2 separate regions of the Homo sapiens genome follow, and region 1 is linked to region 2. Evidence: promoter capture Hi-C in 16 types of primary human blood cells and fetal thymus (Javierre and others, 2016). All regions are on one chromosome and are shown on one strand. The core of a region is centred on a gene start or on the middle of the fragment in contact, and the rest is flanking DNA. Distances in the headings are between cores, read along the strand shown.

Region 1 (6,557 bases), core at 2,222-4,721, 140 kb before region 2:
CTGAAGATTCACACCTGAGCCAGGTAAGGAATGTAGCCTTGCTCAGGTCCGACTGATGGCTGCACCTGCCCGTCATCTGGCAGAGTCACACTCACAGGTACTTCATGGCCCCCAAAGGCCATTGCTCACTCAGAAGAGATGTGCTTTATCAGAGGCTACCTGGCAGGGTCGTGGGAAACATCAATATAGGAAACAGAACCACTGCCCAAAACACCCTGGCCAGGAAAACAGCAGGGCCCACACAACATGGCTCCACCCATCCGCCCTTGGGGCTCGGCAGTAATGGTGTGAAACAATGGAAGTGTTGGGAATGTTGGAAACAGCACAGCCCTCCCGCTGTCTCCCACTGAGAAGAGGGCACCCGGAGCTGAGGCCTGCAGCCCCTCCACGGAGCCTCCGCTCAGGGGTGTGGCTGACAGAGGAGACGCTGGCCAGCTGCACCCCAGGCCTCGCTGAGTACAGCCCACCCTGGATCAGACCTCCAAAAGTGATGATGACTGGACTAAACTTCTGTGGGTAGGTTTACGCTACACTTTTGATTTCAAAGAAATCCATCAGCTGCCAGTTGAGGGAGACTGTAGACTCAAGAGTACCTGCTGGTTGGCTTATGTATTCATCCATGCATTCATTCAGCATTGGTTACTAAGAGTTGACTGCCAGGATGTGGAGAGACAACTAAACAAGACCAACACTGCCCTTGGCCCCTCCTCCCACCTCCCCACTTCCAAAGCTTGCGATTCAGCCAGAGAGAGAAAAGACTTCAATAACTAGAATGCAACTGCCATGTGTTAGGCGGGGGAAGCACACGATGTGGTAGGGGCGCCCTGCAGGGTGCCTGCCCCTGTCTAGAGGGGTCTGGAGGGCTGCCTGGGGAGAAAGGGAGTCAGCCGGTCCAAGGAGGCTGGGGAGGTGAGGGAGGCCTGCAGGGGACAGAGAGCACAGGGCCCTGGGAACCCACAGAACCTGAATAGGACGCGGGCGACCAGGAGTCTCCCCTGGCAACGCCAACCCTCAGTGTTCAGAGATGTCCAGGAAGACCTTGCCGGCAGGATTATCCATGCACGCGGCACTGCTCAAAGCAGAGGCCAACTCTCATGCAGGTCTCTACCCTGGTGCCTTCTCAGAGCTGCCACAGAGGAGGTGCTCCACGGGTGTTTTTAAAGGAATCGCCATGAAGAAATAAGGTGTCGGGGACTGACACGTGGATTCTCTCCAGCACATCAACTCACGGCACTTTCTGAAGGGCCCGGGCCACGGAGCCTGAAGACCCAGCTGGTTCGACGTCTCTCTCTGCCTCTCTTTCTCATTAACTCTCATCCTTTCTCTCTCTCTCTCTTTCCCCTCCCTCTACCCCCAGAGGAGGGCCTTTTCCAGAACACTTAACCTCTCTGCGCCTGCTTCCCAATGAGTGAAACAAGAGAATCCCACGAAATCATAAATGAGTGAGTCTTGTAAACTGTAACTCATCAGGCAAGGGCTGGTTATTGTAACGGCGTGGCCCCGTTGTTCGCCAGGGCAGCAGCCATGCTGCGGGAAACTGCAAACTCAGCAAAGCGAACGGTGGTGTTTGCTGAGTGGACACGGTCTCTGCCACCAAGTCTTCCTGGGAAGGCCTCGGAGGGGTGAGGGAAGCCCACATGGGGAGCCTCTGCCGTTTCCAAAAAGGAGCCTGCAATTCCGGAGCCTGCATCTCCACTGGGATCTGTGCCTGTGTCTGCCCCCTGGGTCTTTCTTTGAGGTTTTTCATCCTCCTGTGATGATTGGTGGGGGGATGGAGATAAGTGTCCTGTCCCCGCCCCCAGAAGAGCAATCTCTCTACAAAACTCTTTCAGAAGCAGCCTGGGCGGATCTGACTGCTGAGGCATTGATGCCCAGGAGCTGTCTGTGCAGGCAGGTGGGTGGAGGAAGCTGGCGGCCCCTAAGACCCCAGCCCTGGTGATGCCCACTGTGGGGGCCTTAGGCAGGCCTGGGCTTACAGTCCGTCTCAGCTCAACTTGGACACATGCCGTCTTTTCTTCATCCTCCTCTTCTTGAAAGGCTTGTTTATTCAGCTGGAAAATAGACGTTTTTCAGCAGATTTTCTCTATTCAGAAATAGACTAAAGCTTCTGCTGGAGTCTGGCATTATCCCAGAGAATGGAGACCCACGGGCCTTCAGCAGTGCACCGCCCTCAGGGAAGTCATCCAGTTTGGGCATCCTGACTCGGTTCTCCCACAGTGTCCTTCTCATCTGCTGTAGCCGAGGTCAGGGAGAAGGCCCTGGGTGGTGTCTGGGCTGAGAGGGTCAATTGTGCCACCTGCTTCAGACGCCCCATGGGCTGGCGACTCTTCTGGTCTTTAGTGCTGACACCCACAGGCCTGGCTCACAGTGGGTGCTGGGTCAGGGCTGGTGGAGAACAATAGTGCTGAGCCAGGACCCGCCCATGTGTTAGAGAAAGGCAGCAGCTTGGAAACCTGTAGGTGGGTCTTCCATCCACTAAGTCACCAAGAACTAGGAGCCTGCAGCCAGTTGAGAGGATTCTTGAGGTGCTCTGCCCCCAGCTGGGGCCCTGAGCCCCCACGAGCCTTCCGCCTGGGGCATCTGATGACTCACGTGCACCACAGCACAGCAGCCCAGTGGGCTGGGAGTTGGGAGCTGGAAGATGAAAGCCACCCACTCTTATCTGCCTCCGAGGAGTCGCAATCAAGAGGGAGGATGCCCCCATAAGGTAAATAACCACAGGACGGGGCATGTGGGGCAAAAGGCAACTGCAAAGTGGAGACAAATCCCAGCGGGAGGCCTCTGGGGGGACCCTGAGCAGAGACGGAGCAGGATAGCGCTCCTCGAGGAGGACAGCTGAGGCCAGAGGGGACAGCATTCGGGACGAGGGCCAGACGTCTGGGGTGGCCAGGGCTGGGCCGGGGCAGGGTGGAAGTGAGTGGCCATGGGTGGGGACTGGGTCGCATCCCAGAGGGTCTCAAGCCCTCCGCAGGGATGGAGGCTTCTTCCTGGGAGCAGATCCCGACTCCTGGCCTTGGCTTCGTGTTCTGGGAATGAAGGCATCAGAACCCAAGACCAAGGAACCCTGGGCCCCGGCGGGCTGCTCAGCTGTGCCTGAGGGGGTGGGGTCTCGGGGACAGATGGGGCTGCCGCTTCTGCTGGGCGCTGAGGGCCAGCCTCCTGCAGCGAGGCAGTGGCCTTCTGCAACCTGTCCACATTGGGGGGCTGAGCCAGGGCCAGGTGTGCTGTGTACCATCTCACCTTTGCCCCATTTTTCCTAAGAAATGCAGATTCTGTGACCTTCAGAGGCAGCTGGAGAAAGAAAAGATGGAGGAGATCACGGCCCAGCAATTCCAGCCTGGGGCGGGCGCGGGCTCAATGATATCCTTCAGGTCCTAATCCCCGAGTGTGGCTGTGTGTGACCCGAGTCCCTTCTGCCTGCCAGGAGTGAGGCCACCTGAGGTCGCAGAAAGGACTGGGGAGGAGACAGGCGCAGGGTGATCCGGATCCCATATTTAATTGATGGTAAGGAGGCCTCCTCACTTCTCCCTGAGCCTGACAAACATGGCTAACCTCCTTTGGAGAAAGTTCTGTGAATAATGTGTCTGCCGCAGGCTGGCGAAGTACAGTGTTCTCCAGAAATCCAGTGGTCTGCACCATCAGTGTCCTGGGCTCGCTGCCTCTGGAGACTCCCACGCCCCCAGCCAAAGCCGGAACCCTCCCCTGAAGCCTCTGCCATGGCCTGTCCTGCCTTGGGGAGGTGGAGACCCTCGGCGTGCTGGTGTCCCACCTCACTGTGCCTCTCAGCTTCTTTGTTTCTGCCCAAAATACAGGCTCCTGAGTAGCCTCCTGTGGGTGTCCTGGGACTGTCACCTGCCCTCTTTCAGCCAGGTGGGCTCAAACGTCAGGGGCACCATCTCTGGTCCAGATTGGGGTCTCTCTCGGTTCATTTATCCAGGATCTTTTGGCAAAAAGAGAAAGACCAAGGATTATCCCCTTTCAGGAGAGCTCAGCCTGCTTTTTCGGGCTCTTCAAGGCCCATCCATTCATGCACGGAGAAATAACACGAATGCTGGTGTGGAAATGATGCCCGGATACCTTTCCAAAGGCTCCATAGCCCACTCTTCCAGTATCCATCCTGGTCATGCAGGCGCTGACCCACATGTTTCTGGATTAGGAAGGAAAGCAAAGGCCAGGAGGCGGAGGCTGACCCCTTTATCTTCTGATAAACCCGAGAGCAGAACAGCCTCAACAAGGACGATTACAGCAGGGAAATGGCATTCCTGGCCAGTGGACAAGCACCTCCTTTAACCTACAGCTCAGAGCCTCACTTTGACTTGCCTCCTGTGGGGTGCTGGTCAGTAGGGGCTGAATTCTGGGGTGCTAGGCATCCCTCCACCATGCAGGCCCCACAAAAGCAGCCGAGGAGGGAGAGTGCTAGGAAGCAGACAGCCACACAGACCACTGGGCTCCATCAGGCCTCTCACTGCAGGAAGCACAGGCCAGCAAGGCCAGAGTTAATTTCTCAGAATAATTGCTAATAATACAAATCAACCTTTCTGGGCACTGAGTACACACCAGGCCCTGTGCTAAGCGCTTCTAACCTAAGCGTCACCTCATTGCCTGCTAATACCCTCTCTAGGAAATAGGGACTACTATAAGTCCTGCCCACAGACATGAAAACCACAGCTGTGGGTTGACCCTCTCTGCGTCTGTATCTAATACTGCACCTGTTTTCTATGAAATCAGGACAATATGATTCATAGGGCAAAATGATTATTTGTTACACATGGAGAAAAACAAAAGCTCAAAGTATGTTTTCTGAAGGAGAAACAAAATCCAGACATTTTCCAAGCTTCAAGTGTGAATATACTTACATGGATGAAAGATTTAAAGAATAACAATAAAAAACCCTTAATGGTAAAAATTTGTTGACTCAGCATGTTTCAGATGTAGCCACGGTGAGCTGGCCTCTTTGGAGACAGCTTTGCTTGTTAAAGAGAAAAGGATGCAAAGGGCTTGCTTTTTATCTCAGTTGGTGAAGGTTGGAGCTGAATGTTTTGAACAAAAGTAATTGCCTATGTCTAAATGTAAAATCACTGAAACACTACTAAAAGACTGGCAAAGAAGTCCAGTGTTAAGAGAGAAAAAGTGGGAGGGGAAACAGGCAGAGAAATAAGGATGAGGGGCTTGGTGGTGTCCCTGGTCTGGCTATCACTGCAGGGACCTGAATGGGTCCACAGTGTCCTCCAGGGGTCTGGGCAGGGGACCAGCCATGCTCCGGACAAGCCCGAGCTGACCCACTGGAAGTGGGCGTTGTTCTATATCTTCCTTCACTGAAGACAGACTGGGGAGAGGTCAGGTGCCAGCCAGGTGGAAAGGAGGAAGGGATAAATACTGCTTTGTGCTGGCTGGCAAGCGTGCAGGGGGCCTCTCGCCAGACCCTCCCCTGACAGTAGCCCAGACAGGCAGTGCCCCTTTGCCTTGGAACACAGATGGATGAGGACAGGGAGGTCAGAGATGGTGAAGCATTTGCCCACCGCACCTGGCTGGCCAACCAGAGAGGCGCTGGGGGTTTGAGGGAGGAAGTGCTGTGTTCTTTCTTCTGCAGCCTGGGGCCCACCTGGGCCGTGCAGAGTCAGGCCACATAGCCACCCACCATGCCTGCATGCTTGGCCTGCCAGGGATGGGTTGTTTTGGGGTTTCTGGAGATACATGGGAGACTCTCGGGGTGCTGGAAAGTGAATTCTGAGCACACCCTGGGAGATTGTACTTCTGGAAGTACCTGGCTCTGGCTGCCAAAGAAAGGCAGCCATGGACAAAAATATTTGTCTCCCTCCCCATATAAACATGCCCCCTGCACCCTATACACACAAGCCAGGTGTGTTCAGAGGCATCTGAGGTCCCTGGGGAACAGACAGTGCCCTGGGAAAGGGGGTGACCCAGGAGGCTGCTGGGAGCTGGGGAGGGGCTGCTTCCCTGGGTCCCCTGGAGCAGGTCCTGGTGGCAAAGTCCAGCCCGACATGTAGGGCTCTGTGGGCAGTGCTGCCCTCAGACCCGAATCCAGTGCAGGCAGGGAGGCCCCAGGGTTTGGGGAGTTCCTGGGGGGATGAAGAATGGCACTGGGCTCCCTCCACATGAGGCTGCATGGAGAAGCTGCAGGGTCTGGGAGGAGCTCAGGATGGGGGCACAGGGTCCGGCTCTGACGCCCAGGCCTACTCCTGACTGTGTGGATGACTGCGGAGGTGATGTCTGCAGTTTACTCGTCTGTAAAGTGGGGCAATAAAATCTATCGCTATTTCCATACTCAAATGACCACGTCCTGACCTCACCTCTCCAGTGGGAGGCTTGGAATCTGCAGATGGGGTTTCCTTGAGTGAAGAAGAAGCTCCAGCAAAGCTAAGACAGAGAAGCTGAAGCCGTGGGTCCTCACTGGGGAGTTACAGCACTGACCCCATTCCCTGATGCTGGCAGAGTAACAGCAAGTGGCAATTTGTCATAAAAGAATTTAAAAAATCCATTATGTCTAAGAGTTAACAATGCTTCATAATTCATTTCAGTGCTTTTTTCTGTTCTTT
Region 2 (6,908 bases), core at 936-3,435:
TGTGGCAGTATGGAAAGTTGTCACTTTTACGAGGCAATGGAATTATGAGGGCCCTGCCCTCATGAATGTATTAATTATTTCATGGACTAATGGATTAATGGATCGATGGGTTTTCTCCGGGGTGGGACTGGTGGCTTTATAAGAATAGGAAGAGAGACCTGAGCTAGCACTGTCAGCCCACTTGCTATCTGGCCACCATGATGCGCGCCCTGTGCCACCTCAGGACTCAGAATCCTCACTAGCATGAAGGCCCTCACCAGATGCAGCCCCTTGACCTTGGACTCCTCAGCCTTTAGAGCCATAAGAAATAAATTTCTGTTCTTTATAAATCACCCAGCCTCAGGTGTTCAGTTATAGCAGCAGGAAGCTAAGACATAAAGCTGTAGGTATGAAAGTCTTTGCCCAACTGTGAACACAATTACTTCTTGTTGGATAAATTATTTATTATATTTACTTTCTTCTTTATTCTTGCCAGTTCCATTTGAATACATTTTTGTAATAGGCCTATGTAATACAAAATACAATAATAAATACAAAATTATTTTCCACACTAGGAATAGGGCCAGAAGGAACTAACTACTGAAATTCTGTCCCACCCTTTAAAAGTGTGGTCAAAATAAATAGACTTAAATGGAAAAAATAGTAAATTTTCCCAATAATATACATGTTTTGAGGATGTAGGAAAGTGTGCACCTTCATTGTGTTAAGGGCATGGTGGGTGACTGGTATCTTTTTCTAATGAGCAGCTGGGCAATGTGTAGCAACAGCTTCAGTAACATTCACAGACTTTGACTCACTTCTAGAAGTCTAACCAAAGAAATAATCAGAGATATGGACAAAGGTTTATGCATAAGGATGTTCATGCATTGTTCTTCCTTAATCATAATTTTAAGATAGAAACAACATAAGTGTCCACAGTAGTAGAGTATGTGTGTACGTATCTCCAATAATTTATTGAACAAATGTTTGCTGAGTGTCTTCTCTGGGCCAGGCTCTTTGAGAGTTCCCTGGAATCCAGTGGTACACAAAACAAACATGTCCACCTCCCGGAGCATGTCATCTAGTTACAATAACGGAAAAGACAGATGATCAGCTAGTTCCACAAATAAGTTAGGTGTTAATGAAGAAAAGTAGAGGATGAAGTAATTGCGTTTTTTTGCCATTAAAAGTAAATGTAACTTTTAATGGCAAAAACTGCAATTACATTTGCACCAACTTAATATTATATTACTAAATAATCAAAGAATACAGTAAAAAGCGGTATGGAAAACATGCTATGAATGTCTATTTATCATCTCAAGAAATGATCTTTTCGCCAAATGGGAGAGTTTTTCGAAAGTCCAGAAATGACCATTTATAAACTATTTACCATTCAACAGAGTGGATACAGCTATAACGACCAAAAACAAGAATGTTCAGAACCATCTCTATCAGAGTACTAAAAAGTAATAAAGATGAAACTTCTCAAGATATAATTTAAATAATACGCAAATATGATCCAATTTGAAAGAGGAAATTTGAAAGCCAAACCTCTCTGATAAAGTCTAAAAATAGAGAGGTATAAAACATAAGGAGGTGTAAGCTTTTCTCTTTCCACTCCACAGTACATTTGACAAAGGTTTACCCTCCTTAGGATTCCTCTTGGAACAATTATAAGAGTCAAATCACTAATGAGTAAAGAAACTGAGCAATGCATAGCAAAAACTTCAGAAAAATCCACAGACTTCGTCAAACTTCTAGAAGTTTAAGCAAGGAAGCAAGTGGAGATATGAACAAAGGTTTATGCCTAAAGATATTTGGGTGTTGTTCTTTCTCAATCATAATTGTGAAATTGAAGCAACATAAATATCCACAATAGTGAAGTATATGTTTACATATTTCCAATAATTCTTGGAGGAGTTGGGGTTTCATGTTGTTGTCTGCTAGACTCAGCAACGCTTTGGGAATACAGATCCTCCACGCCCTATTATTTAGGAATTCTACTCCTGTCATGATATGGTAGGCTAAACTTGCTTCCATGACACTTGGCCAAGGATTATAAATTAATTGCATGATTGAGGAAGTCCCTGGGAAGACCATGCCCACCCCTTGTTCATGCTGGTTGGCTGTAACCATAGCAGCCTCTTACTCCAGACCAAAGTTCAGCTACTGTTAATTTTATGGCCATGTTCAGAGTTCAATGTCCATTAGCATAACCCTTCCTCAGGAAGAGTGAGATTTTATATTTGACAATAAAGTGTTAGACTCCATTTCTAAATACCAGACTTCAAAAGATAAGGTTCAAAAGTGTTATAAGAAGATATTCCTTTTTTTGTCCTAGAGAACTTATTTTCCTGTGAAAATGCCTACCACAAAGAAGACATTGATGTTCTTATCAAGCTTTTTCACCAGCCTTGGGTCCTTCATTGTAATTTGCTCTATTCTTGGGACACAAGCATGGATCACCAGTACAATTGCTGTTAGAGACTCTGCTTCAAATGGGAGCATTTTCATCACTTACGGACTTTTTCGTGGGGAGAGTAGTGAAGAATTGAGTCACGGACTTGCAGAACCAAAGAAAAAGTTTGCAGGTAAATGATAAACTAATTTGAATGAATATAGTGAGATTGAATTAAGGTTTATGTCATTCTATATTTGGGCCAAATAACCATTCAAAAATAATTTCTTTGTAAGTTTTGGGTTAGGCTGAAGGTACAAGCTTAACTCATAATTTTGGAAATTTGCCATGTCATTATTTGAGCTTCCTCGGTTCTCCTTGTGTCTATTAATACAATAGTCTATATCATTCTAGCAGTGGCTGTATTTAAATAATACCTACCAAGTTGACTGACAAGTAAATAAGTAAAAATATGTGGCAGCAATACGGCATTGAATAGCCAGTAGGAACACATGTTTTAACTGTATTGACTGGGTTTTTAGCTGGAGCCACAACCTCTGTCTAGAACTTCACAAGTGGCATCTATGCAGGAAAGAGTAAAATGGAAAATTTATTATCTCTATTTCTCAAGTTCATTTCTTTAACTGATTTTAATTTACCTCCAAAAAATCTAATCGTTGGAAATTATATTAAATTTCCATTAATTTATTAATTGTATATTTGATAGGAATTCCTAAACATTTTTTTTTCTGATTTCTTATATAATAATGCCCTCCTCTCCATGGAAGTAAAATTAAAAGTTCATTGAGAATAATAAGTTGATTTAGCTACTTATTTGACTTTTGAGGTTTGATAACCTACCTTCATGTTTTCTAAATTTAAAAACATTTGTAAATTATGTAACACATTAAGTGGACTTTGTTTTGAACAATGTTGTATGCAAGTATTATACAGGCATTATTGGGTATCATACAGTCATTACCTTTTGACTTATAAATATGCATCATTTTCTACCTTATACACATGTAATGTTTAGTCCTTGTGTAATGCATGAAGAAGTTTGAGTCCTAGACACTAGCTCTAAGTTCTAGCTCTAGTGTGTTTATGACTTTGTTAATGAAACTATTTTCTTAAATCCAAAGCAACCTGGTTATGTTCCCAAGTTATACATTTGTCATTTAGATGTTAGCAAAAGCAGCATCTCCCCTAGCATTGCCATAGCCTTTCAGGGACATCTCCTCTGGTGTCAACCTCAGCTTCCCATAAGGATGGGGAACATTGGCTTTACAGCAACTTTCAGAGACTCAGTCATGCTTTCAGTTATGTGAATAGCATTTTCAAAACCAAAAACTGCCCTGAAGCCTCAGACACATTTAACAAATTTTAAGTAAGAGACAAAACCTACAGTTTTTTTTGGTTTCCATATGGTGTCTGTTTGGAACCAGTTGATTTCCAATTTGAGATAAATGGCTTCAAAGAAAGCATCAACTATCTCTATGCACGGAGACTCAGAGGAGGCCAGGATGTGTCAGGACCTGGCTCTAAAGCCCTGTGTGCATGCAGGTGAGCATGGTGATGTCAGGGGACCAGAGCAGGCACTTGTCAAGGAGAGCCCTGAAGGGGCCCAGGGCCAGGTAGGTGCGGCAGCCCAGGTGGGAGCACAGCCAGGCAGAATATTTGCCTTCCCTTTGCTGGATCTCTACTTTAAGTCTCTGTTACTGGGGAGCCACATTCTGACCTTCCCCAAGTCACTGCCCAACCTCCTAGTGCTGAAGAAGGTGAACCACCACCCAATTAATGAAGGGGCTGCACTGTCACTCTGGTTGACACCTAAGGACCTCTCAGAGCCTAGGGGATCTTTATTGCCAATGATTGTAATAATCGCTGGGCTTGAACACCTGTAAGCAGTTCTCTCAGACAGGGGAAAGTCATGTTACTGAAATCTTCAACTTGCGGTGTTCAGCTGCTAACGATCCCGGGATGCTTCTCCTGGGAGCAGCCCTGCAGTGTGTACATGGAGACGTGGGTGCTCTCCTGTGGTTTCTCGTGGTCACTTGGGGCTTTTTTCAAATCAGAAACCAACCATTGGCAGCACAATCAAATCTGTACAAACGCCCCTTTCTTGCCCAGCGGTGGTGGACTGACTGTTCCAATTGAGAATTTAACCATATCAGCTTCTTGGCTAGCATGAGGTCACATCAAGAGTCCCCCAAGAGTAATAATTATTGCAAAGCTCTGCTATATTTCTGCATGGTATTTATCATATTGAGCCAATTTTGACTGTAGATTTGAAACGAAATAGCAGAAGGAAGCAATGACAGCTGATTTCAAAGTGCCAAAATAATTCAGCCAACATTGGTCAATCTGTGGGGAAAATCGTCCTTCAGACCTGGTAAGGAAATCCTCCAGTGTGTAACTGGAGGGTGCGGGCAGCTCAGGCTGACTTGCTGCATCCTAGTTTGTCCAACATCCAGATGAAAAGTGACAGGTCCTGTATGTCCATCTGTGAGCAGGTTGTCTTTGCTACTCCCAAAGTTCTGGAGATCTAATTTCTGTTCAAAAAAACTTCCCTGAGCAGCTGCTGCATGTATAAGGGGCTCAGGATACTGAAAGGAATTGCACATGGTTCCTGGCCTTGGAGGGCTCACCATTCAGTGTGAGATTAAGACCCTTCCTCAGCTAAAATCAGTGCCCTGCACTCACTGCTGGAGCATGGTATGTGCAGGTCTGCATGCAAGCAAGGGGGTTGGGGGAAATGCATGTCTGCAAAGCCCAGTTGGAGGACAGAATCCTGAAAAATGAGCTGCTAGGAGGTGTAAGCTCACACTGTGGACACCCACCTCCTTCTCGGTTCTGGATCTTGGGTGCCATGTAAAAAGAAGTCATTCCTTTAACTCTGTGTTTTGAAAATGTGGTCAGGGCCCCGGAAGCACAATGTGCTCTGTTTCCTCACACTGGCAAACATGACAAAATGAGTCATTCACATTTAGGACATGGAATTCCTGTGAATGTCGTTTCAAATATTACTCAGCCTACGCACTGACCAGAACTTATTTTTTACAGAATCATTTTGACAGGAAAAGTGTTTATGATAGTTTTGTTGTTGTTGTTGTTGTTTTGTTTTTTCATCACCCAGGCTGCTTCACACCCAGACTGGAGTGCAGTGGCGCCATCTCGGCTCACTGCAATTTCCACCTCCTGAGTTCAAGCAATTCTCGTGCCTCAGCCTCCCTAGTAGCTGGGATTACAGGAATACACTACAACACCCGGCTAATTTTTGTATTTTTAGTAGAGACAGGGTTTCACCATGTTGGCCAGGCTGGTCTCAAACTCCTGACCTCAAGTGATCCACCCACCTCGGCCTCCCAAAGTGCTGGAATTACAGGCATGAACCACTGCGCCCGGCAAGATTTTTCTTTTCTTTTTTGAGACAGCGTCTTGCTTTGTCGCCCAGTCTGGAGTGCAGTGGTGTGATCATAGCTCACTGCAGCCTCTACCTCCTGGGCTCAAGAGATCTTCCTGCCTCAGCTTCTGGTGTAGCTGGGATCACCAGCACACACCACCACACCCAGCCACTTTTCTTACGTTTTGTAGAGACAGGGTGTCACCAGCCCAGGATGGACTTTATTATGAGAGATATTTCTCCTCATGTGACACTGCACTCTTTGTTCTCAGTTCCAAGAACAGTCTGATTTGCAGATGTGTGGGACTTTGAGCAATCACGTTGCCTACAGCGGAAGGTAGACTCACCTGGGATGCGGGTGAGGCATCCCCACCCTGGACCAAATGAATAGCAATCTCCGCGGGGTGAGGCCCTGACCTGCTCGTTTTTTAAAAATCTTCCCAGGTGATCCTAATTGAGTGTTGACAACAACCAGCTTCCACCAAGGCCAGGCACTAGATTGACAGGCATGGCTGTACTGGGTATTGTTTTTTAAGTCCTTTGGATGTGGCCTGCTTGAAATTAAATTAATTTATTGGCAAAAGCTCTGGACAACCTTGCAAAGGAAGCAAGGCAGACTGAGGGAAAGCTCAGCTCCCGGCTGGTCTTTGAGTGCTGCGTCCGAGTCAGGATTCACTGCAGCTGGCGGGAGTCTCTCCCCATCTGGCACTCCCCCACCCGCTAGTCTCTTTCCTCCACTAACCTCCATGTGTTCTCAGGGAGCTCAACATTGCACCATTAGGCCAGGCTAAAAATAATTAGAAAAATAGACCTTCTGCAGAAACTAATGAATTGCAAAGAGAAGAACAAATGAAGTTTATTTCTCCAGAATTCATAAAGAGCCCCCACCTTACTACTCCTACCCTGTCCACATAAGGAGATTCTCCTGGAGAGCAGGTTCATCATCTGCCCCCAGAGATATAACCACACTGTGATGGGGAGAGTAGAGAGGACAAAGAGGGTGCCCTCCCAAGCTCAGGCCACTTCTCCCTAAGGAACCCTGGCAACTTTCTGAGAGGCTGGGGCACCAGCCTGGGCTCCCTGGGAGAGCTACCAGGCCACACTTGGAGATCTGTTGATAGAATGAGC

The links. The method cuts DNA at HindIII sites, captures the fragments that hold promoters and counts their contacts. A CHiCAGO score of 5 or more calls a contact.
Region 1: a contact is called between a fragment that was not itself captured here and the fragment with the promoter of CLRN3 in region 2, in 6 of 17 cell types (monocytes, M0 macrophages, M2 macrophages and 3 more). The highest score is 16.5, in monocytes.

The regions. Positions count from the first base shown.
Region 1 is chr10:128,025,179-128,031,735 of GRCh38, reverse strand. All of the region lies in intron 2 of PTPRE (protein tyrosine phosphatase receptor type E), which reads right to left. Among named protein-coding and RNA genes, the nearest start is that of AS-PTPRE, 34 kb to the left of the region's middle. The HindIII fragment of the contact is 2,730 bases long and covers 2,107-4,836 here.
Region 2 is chr10:127,888,218-127,895,125 of GRCh38, reverse strand. It overlaps CLRN3 (clarin 3), which reads left to right and starts at 2,185. Exons shown (of 3, transcript NM_152311.5): 1 at 2,185-2,570. The coding sequence starts at 2,342. The HindIII fragment of the contact is 797 bases long and covers 1,585-2,381 here.